5 separate regions of the Homo sapiens genome follow, and regions 1, 3, 4 and 5 are each linked to region 2. Evidence: promoter capture Hi-C in 16 types of primary human blood cells and fetal thymus (Javierre and others, 2016). All regions are on one chromosome and are shown on one strand. The core of a region is centred on a gene start or on the middle of the fragment in contact, and the rest is flanking DNA. Distances in the headings are between cores, read along the strand shown. Region 1 holds the start of MIR6777 (microRNA 6777). Region 2 holds the start of RAI1 (retinoic acid induced 1). Region 3 overlaps TOM1L2 (target of myb1 like 2 membrane trafficking protein). Region 4 overlaps TOM1L2 (target of myb1 like 2 membrane trafficking protein). Region 5 overlaps TOM1L2 (target of myb1 like 2 membrane trafficking protein).

Region 1 (2,700 bases), core at 201-2,700, 130 kb after region 2:
TTCCTGTACATATGACTGTAAAATGGTAAACGTGTGTATTATATCTGGCCTCGTTATATAGTGTATATATATGTATACATATACATATATATAATATATATGAAGACTGTAAATGTTAAGACGACTAGTGTTCTTATTAGTATATTGCTTCACACTGAAGATTGTGTGTATCGAGCTGTTTCTAAAAGATGTTTATTTTCCTTAAGAGTAAAAAACAGTCATTGCATTCAGAAAAAAAAAAAAAAAAAAGTCAATAAAGATACAACGATTGTTTTGGAAAATCTGCAGCCCGTGGATTCCGACCAGATTCAGCTGGGAGCCGGGCCAGGCTTTAGGTTGGGGAATGGGAATGAAGGGAGGGGCTGGGGGGGGGGGCATGAATGGAGTCAGGGAGTCGGCCTTTCACAGAACAGGAAACCTCCCCCGCCCCTGTGCCCCCTCTCCAGTGTGGCGGCAGGTCGGGAGGGAGGAGGCTTCTTTGCTGTGAGATGACCAGGGGCCGGGATGGGGGAGGTGAGACGTGCCAGACTTCTTGCAGGGAGACCCAAGCTGTAGCTCCTGTCACACAACAGGTCCTGGAAGTCAGTCCATCCTCCCGTGCCACCCAGGGACCTGATGGGGACAGAGCTGGGAGGTGAGAAGGGACAACTGACCCCATGGAGGCCCTAAGGGTTGACACAGCCCAACCATGTGCCCTGGGAGCAGGGGGAACAGGTAGGCTGGAGGCCATACAGCCAGCCCTCCCCACTCCTCCCACTAACAAACAAACATCGGGAAGAGCTAAGTTAAAAGTTGTGTACCTTGTGGCCGGAGGGGGAGGGGAAGCCTTTCCCTAGGTGCTGGGGGAGGGCCCAAGCACTCTCACTAGTCAGCACATCCATCAGCTGAAGACACAAAACCCAGATTATAAATAATTTCATTTTTAATTCTCTGTACAAAACTTCTCAATCTATGAAAATAAAGTTTGCAAAAGGCAAAGTAGCACAGGAGCCTCAGGTCAGGAGGCTAAGCACGCTGACCTACACTATGTACACGTCTCTCTCCCACGACGGAGAGAGAGGCCTCTGGGGCAGAGCCCTGCTTGCAGTCCGGGAAAGCCAAGTTGGCTTCCGTCAGCACAGGGAAATGTACCCCTCTCTTCCCTGTACACAGGAGGAAAAAAGCCACTAAGGTGCCTGCAGAGCAAGGAGGGGGGCCCCCCAAAATGGCTCGGCCCCTGCAGTGCCCCGATCGGCCACCAGAGGTCAGCACCATCATGGCCGCCGGTCTTAGGGTCAAGATCGCGCCCCTCGGGCCTTCCACCGCGAAGGCACACAGCAGCCGCAGGTCGAACTGTGGAGGCCAGAGTCTCTTGCACTGCCTTCGGCCTTCAAAGCTTCGACGCAGGACAGAAGCTGCACGGGACCAAAGTGGCTAGAGACAGGGGTGCTGAGGCCGGGGACACGGGGTCTAGCTGGAAGTGACAGTGGTCCCACCGCCCAGGCGCATGAGCATCTGCTGACAGTCGTGCAGCAGCCGGCGATCGCCAAGCTTCTCGAGTGTGCGCGCCGCCTCAGCCAGCATGCCCACGCGCTGCCCGGGCGCCGACAGGAAGCCGGGGGGCAGGTAGCAGGAGGCCAGCAGCAAGGCCTCCGCGTGCTCCCGCCGCGTGGGCCGCGGCTCCAGCTCCGCCACCGCGCCTGCGCACACGAGGATGTGTCAGGGATGGGTCTCAAGCTGGCCACGCCCCCGCGGGAGCCCTGCCCACACACAAGCCACGGCACCAGCCGCCTGTACCTGGCACACAGGTACCTGGCGGGGGCCTGGCGGGTTCCCCTCTCCCCACCCTAGTCTCAGCCCACACACAAAGTCCACAGACTGAGTCACGCACGTGCAGTCATGTATCCCACAAATGACAGTCACCCCACTGATTCCTTGTGAAAGGAATTGTCATCAGGTAACCATCAAGAAGATGCTTGGTCTTTTTTTTTTTTTGAGACAGGGACTCTCCCTGTCACTCAGGCTCACTGCGGCCTCCAACTCCTGGGCTCAAGCTGTCCTCCCAACTGAGCCTCCCAAAGTGCTAGGTGTGAGCCACTGCGCCAGGCCTGTCTGTCCCGTCTGACACACACACAGCCTCCCTTGGTATCACATCCCATGTGCGCCCTTCCCTGCTGAGCAGACAGCACATCCCTGGTCAGCAGCTGCCCCCTCACCTCCTTTGCCACCGGGGCCTGCCCGCCGCCTCAGACTGCGGTCGAGGAGCTGGTGTGTCCGTGTGGGGCTGGCCCCCGCCATCAGCCGGGCCGTGGCCTCATGTAGGAACACCTGGGGGCCAGGAGAGTGGAGGCTCAGGGCTCTCCATCTCCACCACTGCCTGACTCCCCGTCTTGAGGACAGGGCCATCGGGCACTCACCCTCCGCATGGCGGGCCGGAAGCTCTGTGCCAGCCGCCTCAGGCTGCTCAGGTCCCGTTGGAAGCCACGCAGCTCAAGGGCGGAAGCCTGGGGCCTGCTGCTGGTGCCCTGGGCTGCTGGGGCCGGGGCCGGGGGCTGCTGCTGCCGCCACAGGCTGGTGCGCACCACAAGAAGCAGGTCACACAGGAACAGCTGCACGGCCTGGGGGTGGCAGGCAGGGCAGGGGTCACCAGGGCTCCAGCTCTGGGAGGGGCAGGATGGGGGCCCGTGGTGCCAGGGGCCGGCTCCGGGCTGCACTGCCGAG
Region 2 (2,700 bases), core at 181-2,680:
AATGTGATGAGCCGACCTCACAGAGGGGGCACCAGGATCTAATGAGACCATGCACAGAAGGGGCACAGCAGGCCTGGGACAGAGTGAGGGCCCCCCATCTATCACAATACCTTATTTTGCAGATGCAGGATTCACTTGTCCCAGGTCACCCACAAGCTCTGATGCCTTGACCAGCTCCCCTCTGCCCTACCAAAGGACAAATGAGGGAGGCTTCGATGGGGCTGTTAATGGGGTCATATCCCACAGACCCTAGAGCCTGGGTGGGGCTGAGAGGCTTCCCAAGCAGGTGGCAGTGAGCTCCCACCTGAGCTATGGCAAGTAGAGACCTAGGCATGAAATTGCTCCGAGGTCTGTACCTTAAGTTTCATGCAAGGACTCTCTCATTCAACATGCCTCTGTTTAAAGTCTGCCAGTGGCTACCTTCCTTGCACTAGAATTGCAAACAAATTCCTCACTGAGCTCTCTGCAGCCCTGCAGGCTCTGGCCCTCCCGATATGGCTCTGACTTCAATGTGCCCATTACTTGTCCCCTTGCTGACGGCCTCCTCACAATTCCACTTACTCACCAAGTTCTCTCCTGCCTCAGGACCTTTGCACTTGATGTTCTTTCTGCCAATGATGCTCTTCCCAGGAGGGCAGGCCCCTGTAGTCCCAGCTACTCAGAAGGCTGAGGTGGGAGGACTGTTTGAGGCCAGGAATTCAAGTTCGGCCTGGGCAACACAGCAAGACCCTGCCTCTAAAAGAACAAAATGCTCTTCCCAGACTCTACCCATGGCGGTTCCTCTTGCTATTTAGATCTTTGCACAGACAGGCCTCCTTCTCTCTCCCCCAGCCAAGGAGCCCTAGCCGTCACTTCACCTGCTAATTTTCGTCCTAGCACTTACTGCTCTAAAATTATCTTCGTCATGTATCTAAGCATTTGTTTGCTGTCTGTCTCTTCCCACCAGGATGCCAGCTCCACGACAGCAGGGACCGCATTGTCTCTGCTGATTCCTCAAGACTCAGCAAGGTGCCAGGTGCCCAGTAAATGAAGTTTACATGAAGCCAATGGAGTTTTGAAATCGAAAATGTTTCTCAAACTGCAAAGAAGTGGGCACAGGTGAGGGCTAATGGTGGGGTGAGGGTGGGGGCCTGGCCTGACGCTGGAAGCTCCTGTACGCAGGGCGCTAGTGTCCTCCCAGGCCGCACCGGGATCCCACCGCAGAGGCCCCCTCCCGCAGGCCGGCCAGCGGGCGGGGGGCGCGCAGTGGGGCGCGCGGACCGCCAGGGGGTGCTGTCGGGGCGCGCACGGCCCACCTGGCGCCCGGGGCCGCGAGCGAGCGCAGCCAGGCCGCCCGGGAACTTTTTTCCTCGCGCTCTTGCTCTCCTTCTCCCCCCGCGCGTCGCCCGCCCGCCCGTCCGCTCGTCCGCTCTTCCTGTGCGGAGGGGATCGCATTCCTCGCGGCACCCGCGGACACCAGGCAGGCCCGGCCGGGTGCGCGGCCAAGGCCCGCTCCCCGCGTCCCCGGGCGCCGCCCCCGCCCGCGGCTGGGCTCCGAGAGACGAGTGGGAGAGCGAGTGCAGCGAGGGCGAGAGGCGAGCCGAGCAGGCCGCCCTGCCCGCGGCCCTAGCGCCGGCGCGAGGAGGGGGCGCCGCGGCCCACCCTCCTTCCTGCCTGGCCGCGGGCCGGCCGGGCCGCCGCGCCCCGACCCCCATGGCCACCCAGGCCTCCGGGCCGCGAAGTCGCAGCGCCAGACCCAAGGCCCCCGAGTGAGCGCGGGCGCCGAGGTGAGCAGCGAGCGCCGGGGCGCGGGGGGCGCAGTGTATCCTGCCCCGGGGCGGGGGCGGCGCGAGGCGTCGGGATCCTAGGCCGGGTGATGAGCCGAGGCGGGTTCGGACGCCGAGCGCGCGCGCTGGGTGGAGATGTGGGGTCCGCGGGGTCCTTGCTTTGTGTGGTGTGGGGGGTGCGCGAGGTCACCGGATGGACGTCTGGGGAGCTGCAGGGTGGGGGCGCCCTGCGCCGCGGCTGAGGGTCTTCTGGGGGATGTGCGGCCAGCTGAGGTCGGGTGGGGGCATGGGGGCGCGAGGGGCGAGTGTGGCAAGGGATCTGCTTGCGCCGAGGCGCGGAGTCTTTGCGGAGCGTGGGGTGGGGACGTGGGGTGCATTCGCGGGGCGCCGGGGGCGGAGGTGAGCTTTGTGAGTGCGTCCGAGGTGGGGGACGGGGAGCTGACTTCCCCATGCGTGACCCGGGCCCGGCGTGGCCATCGCTTGGGAGTCAGGGCCGGCGAAGGCCGTGCGTGGCGAGATGGGTGCTCGGGCTCTCTGCGGTGTCCCTACCCGGGCAGCGGCCCCGGGGCCTGTGCGCAGGCCCCGAGGCCGGGCAGGAAGCGGCCCCCGCGACCTGGGGAGCTCTGTAGCGGCCAGGCCCGGGAGGCACGGGCCCTTCGGGGATGACGTCACGGGCGGGGGCCCCGGACACGCGAGCCTTGCGCCCCACAGACGGCGGCGCAGCCCGCCGCCCTTTTCGAGGCCGGCCCCCCCTCTCACGCGCCTTGAAGGCAGGGAACCCGGGAGGAGGACATGGGGGCCGAGTGCGGCGGGGACAAGGGGTGGCAGGACGCGAGGGTGACATTTGGAGCCTGGTCGCGCCAGGGGCCTCCGTGGTGGGGCGGAGGGGAAGCGAAACACCAGCCAGGCCCTAGGCCGTCGCGGCCCCAGCTTC
Region 3 (2,700 bases), core at 88-2,587, 190 kb after region 2:
ATAAGACATGAAGGATAAGTCTCTCCTTCTCACAGCTCAGCCTCAAAACGACTTCATTTTGAAACCGTTTCTGGTAGAAGTAACTGATTTATTCACAGGAGACACGGCAATCTCTCTTTAGTTCCTCATATTGTCTCATAATCTTGCTAGCTTGGCTACAGGGTCTTCCTTCCTACCACATCATAAACTCTTGAGGGGGTGTTACCATTTATCCACTCAAGGATGCCCTCAAGCCCCGCACTGAGCCACACACAGTGAAAAAGCCCAGTAATCATCTGCTGAACACATCACCAAGGTGGTCAATCAGCCAGTGGGGAATCAAAGGCATCCCCCCTGCATGTCCCTGGTATCCTGCAACACAGCACTCACACAGGGGCTGGGCTTCTTATCTGCCCTCCCGTCTAGACTGAAGCTCCTTGAGGGCAGAGAAGGTATTTCCCTGGTACCCATGACACATGGGAGGCTCTCCCCAAGTACTTCTGAGAGAATTAATTAATGACTCTAAAGTATTCAGAGGCCGGGGCCAGGTGTGGTGGCTCACGCCTGTAATCCCAAAACTATTGGAGGCCGAGGCGGATGGATCACGAGGTCAGGAGATCGAGACCATCCTGGCTAATACGGTGAAACCCCGTCTCTACTAAAAACACAAAAAATTAGCCGGGCGTTGGTGGCGGGCACCTGTAGTCCCAGCTACTTGGGAGACTGAGGCAGGAGAATGGCGTGAACCCAGGAGGCGGAGCTTGCAGTGAGCCGAGATCACGCCACTGCACTCCAGACTGGGAGAGAGAGCGAGACTCCATCTCAAAAAAAAGTATTCAGAGGCCAAGTGCGGTGCCTCATGCCTGTAATCCCAGCACTTTGGGAGGCCGAGGCAGGCGGATCACTTGAGGTCAGGAGTTTGAGACCAGCTTGGCCAACATGGTAAAACCCCATCTCTACGAAAAAATACAAAAATAAATTGGGCACAGTGGCATGCACCTGTAATCCCAGCTATTCAGGAGGCTGAGGTGGGAGAATTGCTTGAATCCGGGAGGCAGAGGCTACAGTGAGCAGAGATTGCACTACTGCACTCCAGCCTGGGGAACAGAGTGAGACCCTGTCTCCAAAAAATAAAAATAAAATATAAAGTATTCTGAACTCTTGGTCCCCGCAAATTACCAGCTCAGTTATCCACATACTCTCAGTCTTCTCAGCACTCTTCACTCAGAGAATGGGGAATTCTTGTTCATCCAGGATCTAATTTTCCCTCTCTAGGACTCATCCCAGGCCCCACTGAACCAGCAGTAAGCACTTATAAACATACAGACAAGTGCTAGAATTAATAAGAGGTGAATACGGGATCTTAATTGCAGGGGACACTACTATCCAGTAAAGAGAAAACTCCACAAAATACCCACTCTCCTCTGTTGTGAATGGCTCATGTCCCCAGGCCAGGCAGGAGAGGGGCTCTCAAAAAGCTGCCTGGGCCTTGGGGCCTGCCAGACGTGGTCTGGATTGCCAGGCAATAATGGCCACAGGCGCCAATGGACACTCACAGGTCAAAACCCAGTCACAATTACTGTACACAGGAAAACCAACAACACAGGGGAAACACTCATTACAGAATGAAGCATACTCAGGAGTGATGCAGAAAACCAAGGCAGGCCCTTAACATTAAAACAAACAAAAACAAAATAAAAATGTCCAAACTTATGAAAGAAACAATCACATAGATCACGTGAAGGATTCCAACAGCCAGGACTGAAGTGAACAATTAAAATAATTATAGTATTTCTAATAGATTGTTAAAACACAGTGAGCATCTGTTCAGGGCTGACAGAGGAGCACAGATTTAGGTTAACTTTGACAGACCATCCTCCCCTGCTTCCTAAAAGAAAAAAAGGATACTTGGCCAACACTTGGGCAGTAGATTTACCCCATACTTTGGAAGAAGCACCAGAGGGAGACCTGGCCAAAGTGTGCAGGATGGAAAAGGGAGGCTGGGCAGTAGGACAGAGAAAAGAGGTCAAACAAACTTCTGCCTCTCTGCTCTGCCATGGACTGTTCCGGGCCACCGTGCGGGTCTCCTCCCCAGGGATGTGGACGTGCCAACACACATGAGGACCGAGCCAGGCACTGCTGAGCTCCTCTTTGCTCCAGCGCTCCAGGTGTCTGCGGAAAATCTCTGATGAGCAAAAGGATCTCAAGTCCCAGCTCAGGACCCACCCCCTCCAGCAAACAGGCCCATTACAAGAAAGTGTGGCCTCTGGGGCTTGTGGCCTAGCAGCAAGCCCTGGCTGTCCTTGGCTGGGGAGGGAGAAGGAAAAAAGTCAATCACTTCTCATGCAAACTGCAGGCCAATCACAAGGCACAGGACGTGCAAGTCAGGGGAGTGTGGCAGTAGGTTGTGGGAAACAGATCCAAGTTACCCTCCAGAAGACTGGGGTATCAGCACCTAAGGCCCACAGGCCATCTTCAAATACACCTCAGACTTTCCAGAATATAGGTGGCCTCAGGCACTTGCCACACTGCTTAAGGGCTCCTGAGAAGTTGGCCATCTGCCTGCAATGTCCCTTATTTCCTTTTCCATCAAACAAACTCTTACTCATCCTTCAAGGCCTCAGGATGTTTCCCCACTCCAGTATTTTGTCATAAAAATTTTCAAACATACAGCAAAACAGGAAGAATTTTACAGTGAACAGACACCATATGCCTATCACC
Region 4 (2,700 bases), core at 71-2,570, 210 kb after region 2:
TCCAGCCAGGCAGAAGCTTGTGAGGCATCTCAAGGCCCTGTTCTGCTCAGGTCCCCATGGCCAGCACACACTGCTACTGCCAGACCAGCAGGGGGAGGCCTCAGAACATGGTGCTGGCCACTTCACACCTTGGGCTGATCTCATGGGCTCAGGATTGAGAGCAGACAGGCAAGAACCCCAAGTTCCATTTTACAGATAAGGTGGTACATGCCCACAATAAATTAGTACACCTGTCTGAGGTTAGCAGCAGGACTGGGTAAAAGCTAGGAGGAGCTGGAAAGTGTGGAGGGGTGATCCTGATAGGAAAGCTTGGAGGTGAGGGCAGGGTGTGCGGGGACAGGCATCCTCAGGGTAGAGGTGTGGGCCACAGCCAGTGAAGAAGGCTGTGTCTGCCCTCAGCCATGGTCCCCACACAGTCAGCAGGGACAGTGCAGTTCACACCCCTTGTGATAACTGTGCTTGCCATGCGGTAGGCTAGCCACCCTGCTGGGCCCGCCACCCTGCAGACAGGCCTCGGGGTCAGAAAGCTCTACCACAGGACATGCTTTGTGAGAAGAAGCCACCATTTGTTTTCCTAACATGAATTCCTGGGGGTATTGAGGTAGGGGAGTGCAGCCCCAGAAGGAAGGGCTGTGGTAGAGTGGGGTGTATGAGGAAGGTAAAGTGCATGCACACGTGTGTGTGTGTGTGTGTGTGTGTGTGTGTGTGTGTCAGAGGGAGACAGAGAGACAGAAGGATATTGGGTGGGCAGAACAGGGACGAGGGACAACCCTAGGGTAAACAGGGGAAGGCCTCCCAGAGTTCCTCAGAATTAACTACATTCACTCATTCATTATAAAGAAATACTGAACACCCGCTCTACACATTACACTGCTCTAGACCCTGGGGACAGCATGTCCCTGGGTTCTTAGGGAACGAAGAATGAGGCAGACAAAAGAAATGTTAGCAAAGCCAGTCTTGAAGACCACAAAAAAGGATGATGTGAGACAGAGAGTGTGTGTGCTTAAAACCAGCTGGAGGCCTCCGAGGCACCTGTGAATGAGGAGGAGGAGTCACTGCTCTGAAAGCTGGGGAAAGACCTTTCAGGCAGAGGGAAGTGAGCACAGGGAATGGACAGAGGCTCCTCTCCAGCTGCACACCTGACCCATCTGAGAGCCCGGCCTGCCCCGGCACTCCACTTCCTGCATTCTCCGCTGCCTCTGCCTGGTTGCCTCCCTTTGCCCTTGCTGGAGCCCCACGCCCAGCCCTAGGTTTGTCTCTCCTCTTGGCTCCTGCAGGCCCTTGTCTTGCCTCTGCCACAGCACTAATCACCCAGGCTGGATGTGCCTGTTGACTTATGTGCCTTCTGTGTCACCACGTGCTCTGTCTAAAACCCAGGTCTGCACACATCCCAGCTCAGAGCCCTTCGATGTCTTCCCACTGCCTACAGGACCAAGCATGCCTCCTCAGCATGCATGGCCACTGGCCTCTGGGCATCCTTCTGGTCCCATCTCCTGCCTGCTCCCCCACCCCAAGCCCTGCCCCCAACATTCTTCATTACACCCCCTTCCCCACATAGTGGTCTCTACAACATGTCCACAAATTATTTGATCCTCCTTTCTTCAAGAGATGGAGTTTATTTCCCCTACTCTTGAGGCTAGGCCTGGTGACTCCCTTCTAACAAATAGAATATAACAGAAAAAAATGGTATGTGACTTCCAAGGCTAGGTCATCAAGACCTAATCTTGATGTCCACATGGTGATAAACTCAGGTCTCTTGCCAATAGTCATCAAGGAACTGAGGCTTCCTGCCAACAGCCATGTGGGTGCACCATGGTGGAAGTGGAGCCTCCAGCTATAGTCGAGCCTTCAGACAATGCAACCTCAAGAGAGACTCCAAGCCAGAATTGCCCAGCCACCTGCTCCTGAATTCCTGGCCCACAGAAACTAAGAGATAATGAACATTTTCCGTTTGAAGGTATGTTTTGAGGTAATTTGTAACACAGTGAGTGATAACAAATACAACCCAAATATGCCAACTGCTCTCTTTGATGCGTCTGGGCCTTTGCACATGCTATTCTCCCTGCCTGTGAAGTCTCTCCCACTGACTTTTCCACCAAACTCCCCATCATTCTTCAGGGTCCAATGGAAATGTCATCTCCTCAGTGAAACATCCCTTAACACCATCCCCAGCCCCTTACCTTGCTCCGCCTGACCCAGAGTTGGCCCCTGCCCTGTGACCTCACCAAACCCGCACGTAGCTCTAACATGGTTCTTCCTACTCCAAGTTTTCTCAGAGGCCTGTTGAGGCCACCCTACCTGCCTTTGTGAGCAGCAGAGGGATGGCACCCAGAAAGCTTCAGGAAGGCTCTGTTAACTGGCTGGAGAGCCATCAATTAGAATTTCATTCCAGTGGGATGAGAATTTTTTTTGAAGTATTTTGCACCAAATATTTTAAATGTAGAAGTCTCCATTTTTTTTTTCCTCCAAATGGTGGGAGAGCATGAGGACTCATCAATAAGAGACTTCATCTTACTCTGTTCCAACAAATTGGGCAAGGGGTCCAACCTACCTGGATCAGAGCAAGCACTTTGTCCTGTACAATGGTGGGAGGGTTGTTCTTGGGAGATATAATTTTGACCAGAACACTGTCGATGAAATCTCGGTTGGCCACAAGGATGTGGAAGCGGTGGCCACAGTTCTTCACACATGTCTCCAGCA
Region 5 (2,700 bases), core at 133-2,632, 240 kb after region 2:
GGTTGTCTTTTCACTCTCTTGATTGTATCTTTTAATGCACAAAAGTTTTAAATTTTGATTGTCCCATTTATCTATTTTTTCTTTTGTTGCCTGTGGTTTTGGTACCATATCTCAGAAATCTTTGCTAAATCCAATGTCATGATTTCCCCTTTTTAAGATTTTTTTTTTTTTTTTTGAGATGGAGTCTTGCGCTGTCACCCAGGCTGGAGTGCAGTGGCGCGATCTCAGCTCACTGCAAGCTCTACCTCCTGGGTTCACGCCCTTCTCCTGCCTCAGCCTCCTGAGTAGCTGAGACTACAGGCGCCCACCACTATGCCAGGCTAATTTTTTGTATTTTTAGTAGAGACGGGGTTTCACTGTGTTAGCCAGGATGGTCTCGATCTCCTGACCTCGTGATCTGCCTGCCTTGGCCTCCCAAAGTGCTGGGATTACAGGCATGAATCACCGCGCCCGGCCTATTTTAAGATTTTTATAGTTTTCCCTTCGCTCTTATGTTTAGGTCTTTGGTCTGTTTGGGGTTCATTTTTGCATATGGTATAAGATAATGGTCCGACTTCACTCTTTTGCATGTGGATATTCAGTTTTCCCAGCACCATTTGTTGAAAAGACTGTCCTTTCCCCTCTAAATACTTTTGGCACCCTTGCTGAAAATCAATTGACCATATACGGGAGAGTTTATTTCTGAGTTCTCTACTTTATTCCATTGGTCCATGTGTCTTTCCTTATTCCAATACCATGATGTTGTGATTATTATAGTTTTGAAGTAAGTTTTGAAATCAGGAAGTGTGAGTCCTCCAACTTTGTTCTTTTTAAAGGTTGTTTAGGGCCAGGCGCAGTGGCTCACGCCTGTAATCCCGATACTTTGGGAGGCCGAGGTGAGTGGATCTCATGAGGTTAGGAGTTTGACACCAGTCTGGTCAACACAGTGAAACCCTGTCTCTACTAAAAATACAAAAATTAGCCAGGCACAGTGGCTCACACCTGTAATCCCAGCATTTTGGGAGGCCGAGGCAGGTGGATCACGAGGTCAAGAGATTGAGACCATCCTGGCCAACCAACATGGTGAAACCCCATCTCTACTAAAAATACATAAATTAGCTGGGCGCAGGGGCACACACCTATAGTCCCAGCTACTCCGGAGGCTGAGGCAGGAGAGTCACTTGAACTCAGCAGGCAGAGGTTGCAATGAGCCGAGATCACGCCACTGCACTCCAGCCTGGGAGACAGAGTGAAACTCCATCTAAAAAAATTAAAAAATTTAAAAAATTAGCTGGGCGTGGTGGCGCACACCTGTTGTCCCAGGTGCTTGGGAGGCTGAGCCAGGAGAATCACTCGAACCTGGGAGGCAGAGGTTGCAAAATGAGCCAAAATCACATCACTGCACTCCAGCCTGGGCGACAGAGCAAGACCCCATCTCAAAAAAATAAATAAAAATAAATAAAAATTAAAGGTTGTTTGGCTATTTGGGGTCCCTTGAGATTTCATGTGAATTTTAGGATGGATTTTTCTATTTCTGAAAAAAATACCATTGGTCTTTTTTTTTTTTTTTTTTTTTTTTTTTTTTCAGAGACAGGGTCTTGCTATGTTGCCCAGTCTGGACTCAAACTCCTGGGCTCAAGCAATCCTCCCATCTTAGCCTTCCAAGTAGCTGGGAATACATGTGCATGCCACCATGCCTGGCTTCATTGCAATTTTAACTGGGATTTCATTACATCTGTAGATCACTTTGGGTAGTGTTGTCATCTTAAAAATATTAGCTTCCCAGGCCAGCTCATGCCTGTAAATCCCATCACTTTGGGAGGCCAAGGTGGGAAGACTGCTTGAGCTCAGGAGTTTAAGAACAGCCTGGGCAACATAAGGAGACCCCATCCCTACAAAAAATTTAAAAATTAGCCAGGAGTGGTGGCTTACACCTGTCATTTCATCTACTCAGGAGGCTAAGGTGGGAGGATGACTTGAGCCCGGGAGGTCAAGGCTGCACTGAGCCGTAATTGAGCCACTGCACTCCAACCTGGGCAACACAATGAGGCTGCCTTAAAAAAAAACTGTCTTCCCATCTATGAACACAGGATGTTTTTCCATATATTTATGTCTTCTTTCTTCTTTAATTTCTTTCAGCAACGTTTTATAGTTTTCGGTGCACAATTTTTTGCTGCCTTGGTTAATTCCTAGGTATTTTATTTTTTTAGAGGCTAGTGTAAATGGAATTGTTTTCTTTTCTTTTCAGATTGTTCATTGTTAATGTATATTAACAGAAACACAACTGATTTTTGAATGTTGATTTTGTATCCTGCAGCTTTGGTAAATTTATGTTATTCGCTCTAGCAGTTTTTCTTTTTTTTTTTGTTTTGTGGTATCTTCAAGGTTTTCTACATGTAAAGTCATGTCATCAGGGAACAGAGATAATTTTACTCCTTCCTTTCCCATTGAGATGCCTTTTATTTCTTTTTCTTCCCTAACTGCTCTGGCTACAATTTCCAATACCATGTTGAATAGAAGTGGTGAAAGGCAGCATCGTTGCGCCTATATATATTTTTACAAAACACAGTCATACACCATGAGAGCAAACAAAGCTGAAGAGAAGACCCATTTGAGTCCTTATTCCATAAAAAATTGCAAGAGGGTGAAAACAGGAACCATAACAGGATCTGCAGGTCTTTGCAAGCCCTGAGAAAGTCACCTCAGACTTCTGTCTGGAAA

The links. The method cuts DNA at HindIII sites, captures the fragments that hold promoters and counts their contacts. A CHiCAGO score of 5 or more calls a contact.
Region 1: a contact is called between a fragment that was not itself captured here and the fragment with the promoter of RAI1 in region 2, in 16 of 17 cell types (naive B cells, total CD8 T cells, megakaryocytes and 13 more). The highest score is 21.5, in naive B cells.
Region 3: a contact is called between a fragment that was not itself captured here and the fragment with the promoter of RAI1 in region 2, in 14 of 17 cell types (naive CD4 T cells, naive B cells, endothelial precursors and 11 more). The highest score is 8.7, in naive CD4 T cells.
Region 4: a contact is called between a fragment that was not itself captured here and the fragment with the promoter of RAI1 in region 2, in 3 of 17 cell types (fetal thymus, total CD8 T cells and erythroblasts). The highest score is 6.7, in fetal thymus.
Region 5: a fragment that was not itself captured here is called in contact with the fragment with the promoter of RAI1 in region 2 in 10 of 17 cell types (total CD4 T cells, fetal thymus, total CD8 T cells and 7 more); the score reaches 9.0 in total CD4 T cells.

The regions. Positions count from the first base shown.
Region 1 is chr17:17,811,173-17,813,872 of GRCh38, forward strand. RAI1 (retinoic acid induced 1) reads left to right here. Exons shown (of 6, transcript NM_030665.4): 6 at 1-281. It overlaps SREBF1 (sterol regulatory element binding transcription factor 1), which reads right to left. Exons shown (of 19, transcript NM_004176.5): 17 at 2,397-2,597; 18 at 2,196-2,307; 19 at 162-1,679. The coding sequence ends at 1,450. It overlaps MIR6777 (microRNA 6777), which reads right to left and starts at 2,373; the gene lies at 2,308-2,373. MIR33B (microRNA 33b) reads right to left here; the gene lies at 2,664-2,700. RefSeq lists an enhancer at 1,585-2,143. The HindIII fragment of the contact is 155 bases long and covers 1,374-1,528 here.
Region 2 is chr17:17,680,028-17,682,727 of GRCh38, forward strand. It overlaps RAI1 (retinoic acid induced 1), which reads left to right and starts at 1,431. Exons shown (of 6, transcript NM_030665.4): 1 at 1,431-1,766. RefSeq lists silencers at 1,152-1,661, 1,692-1,831, 1,892-1,971, 1,983-2,155, 2,142-2,700 and an enhancer at 1,472-2,073. The HindIII fragment of the contact is 10,976 bases long and covers 1-2,700 here.
Region 3 is chr17:17,870,568-17,873,267 of GRCh38, forward strand. All of the region lies in intron 7 of TOM1L2 (target of myb1 like 2 membrane trafficking protein), which reads right to left. Among named protein-coding and RNA genes, the nearest start is that of SREBF1, 35 kb to the left of the region's middle. The HindIII fragment of the contact is 6,030 bases long and covers 1-2,700 here.
Region 4 is chr17:17,891,110-17,893,809 of GRCh38, forward strand. TOM1L2 (target of myb1 like 2 membrane trafficking protein) reads right to left here. Exons shown (of 15, transcript NM_001082968.2): 4 at 2,552-2,700. Among named protein-coding and RNA genes, the nearest start is that of SREBF1, 55 kb to the left of the region's middle. The HindIII fragment of the contact is 2,028 bases long and covers 307-2,334 here.
Region 5 is chr17:17,915,917-17,918,616 of GRCh38, forward strand. The region is part of intron 1 of TOM1L2 (target of myb1 like 2 membrane trafficking protein); the gene reads right to left. Among named protein-coding and RNA genes, the nearest start is that of TOM1L2, 55 kb to the right of the region's middle. The HindIII fragment of the contact is 8,009 bases long and covers 1-2,700 here.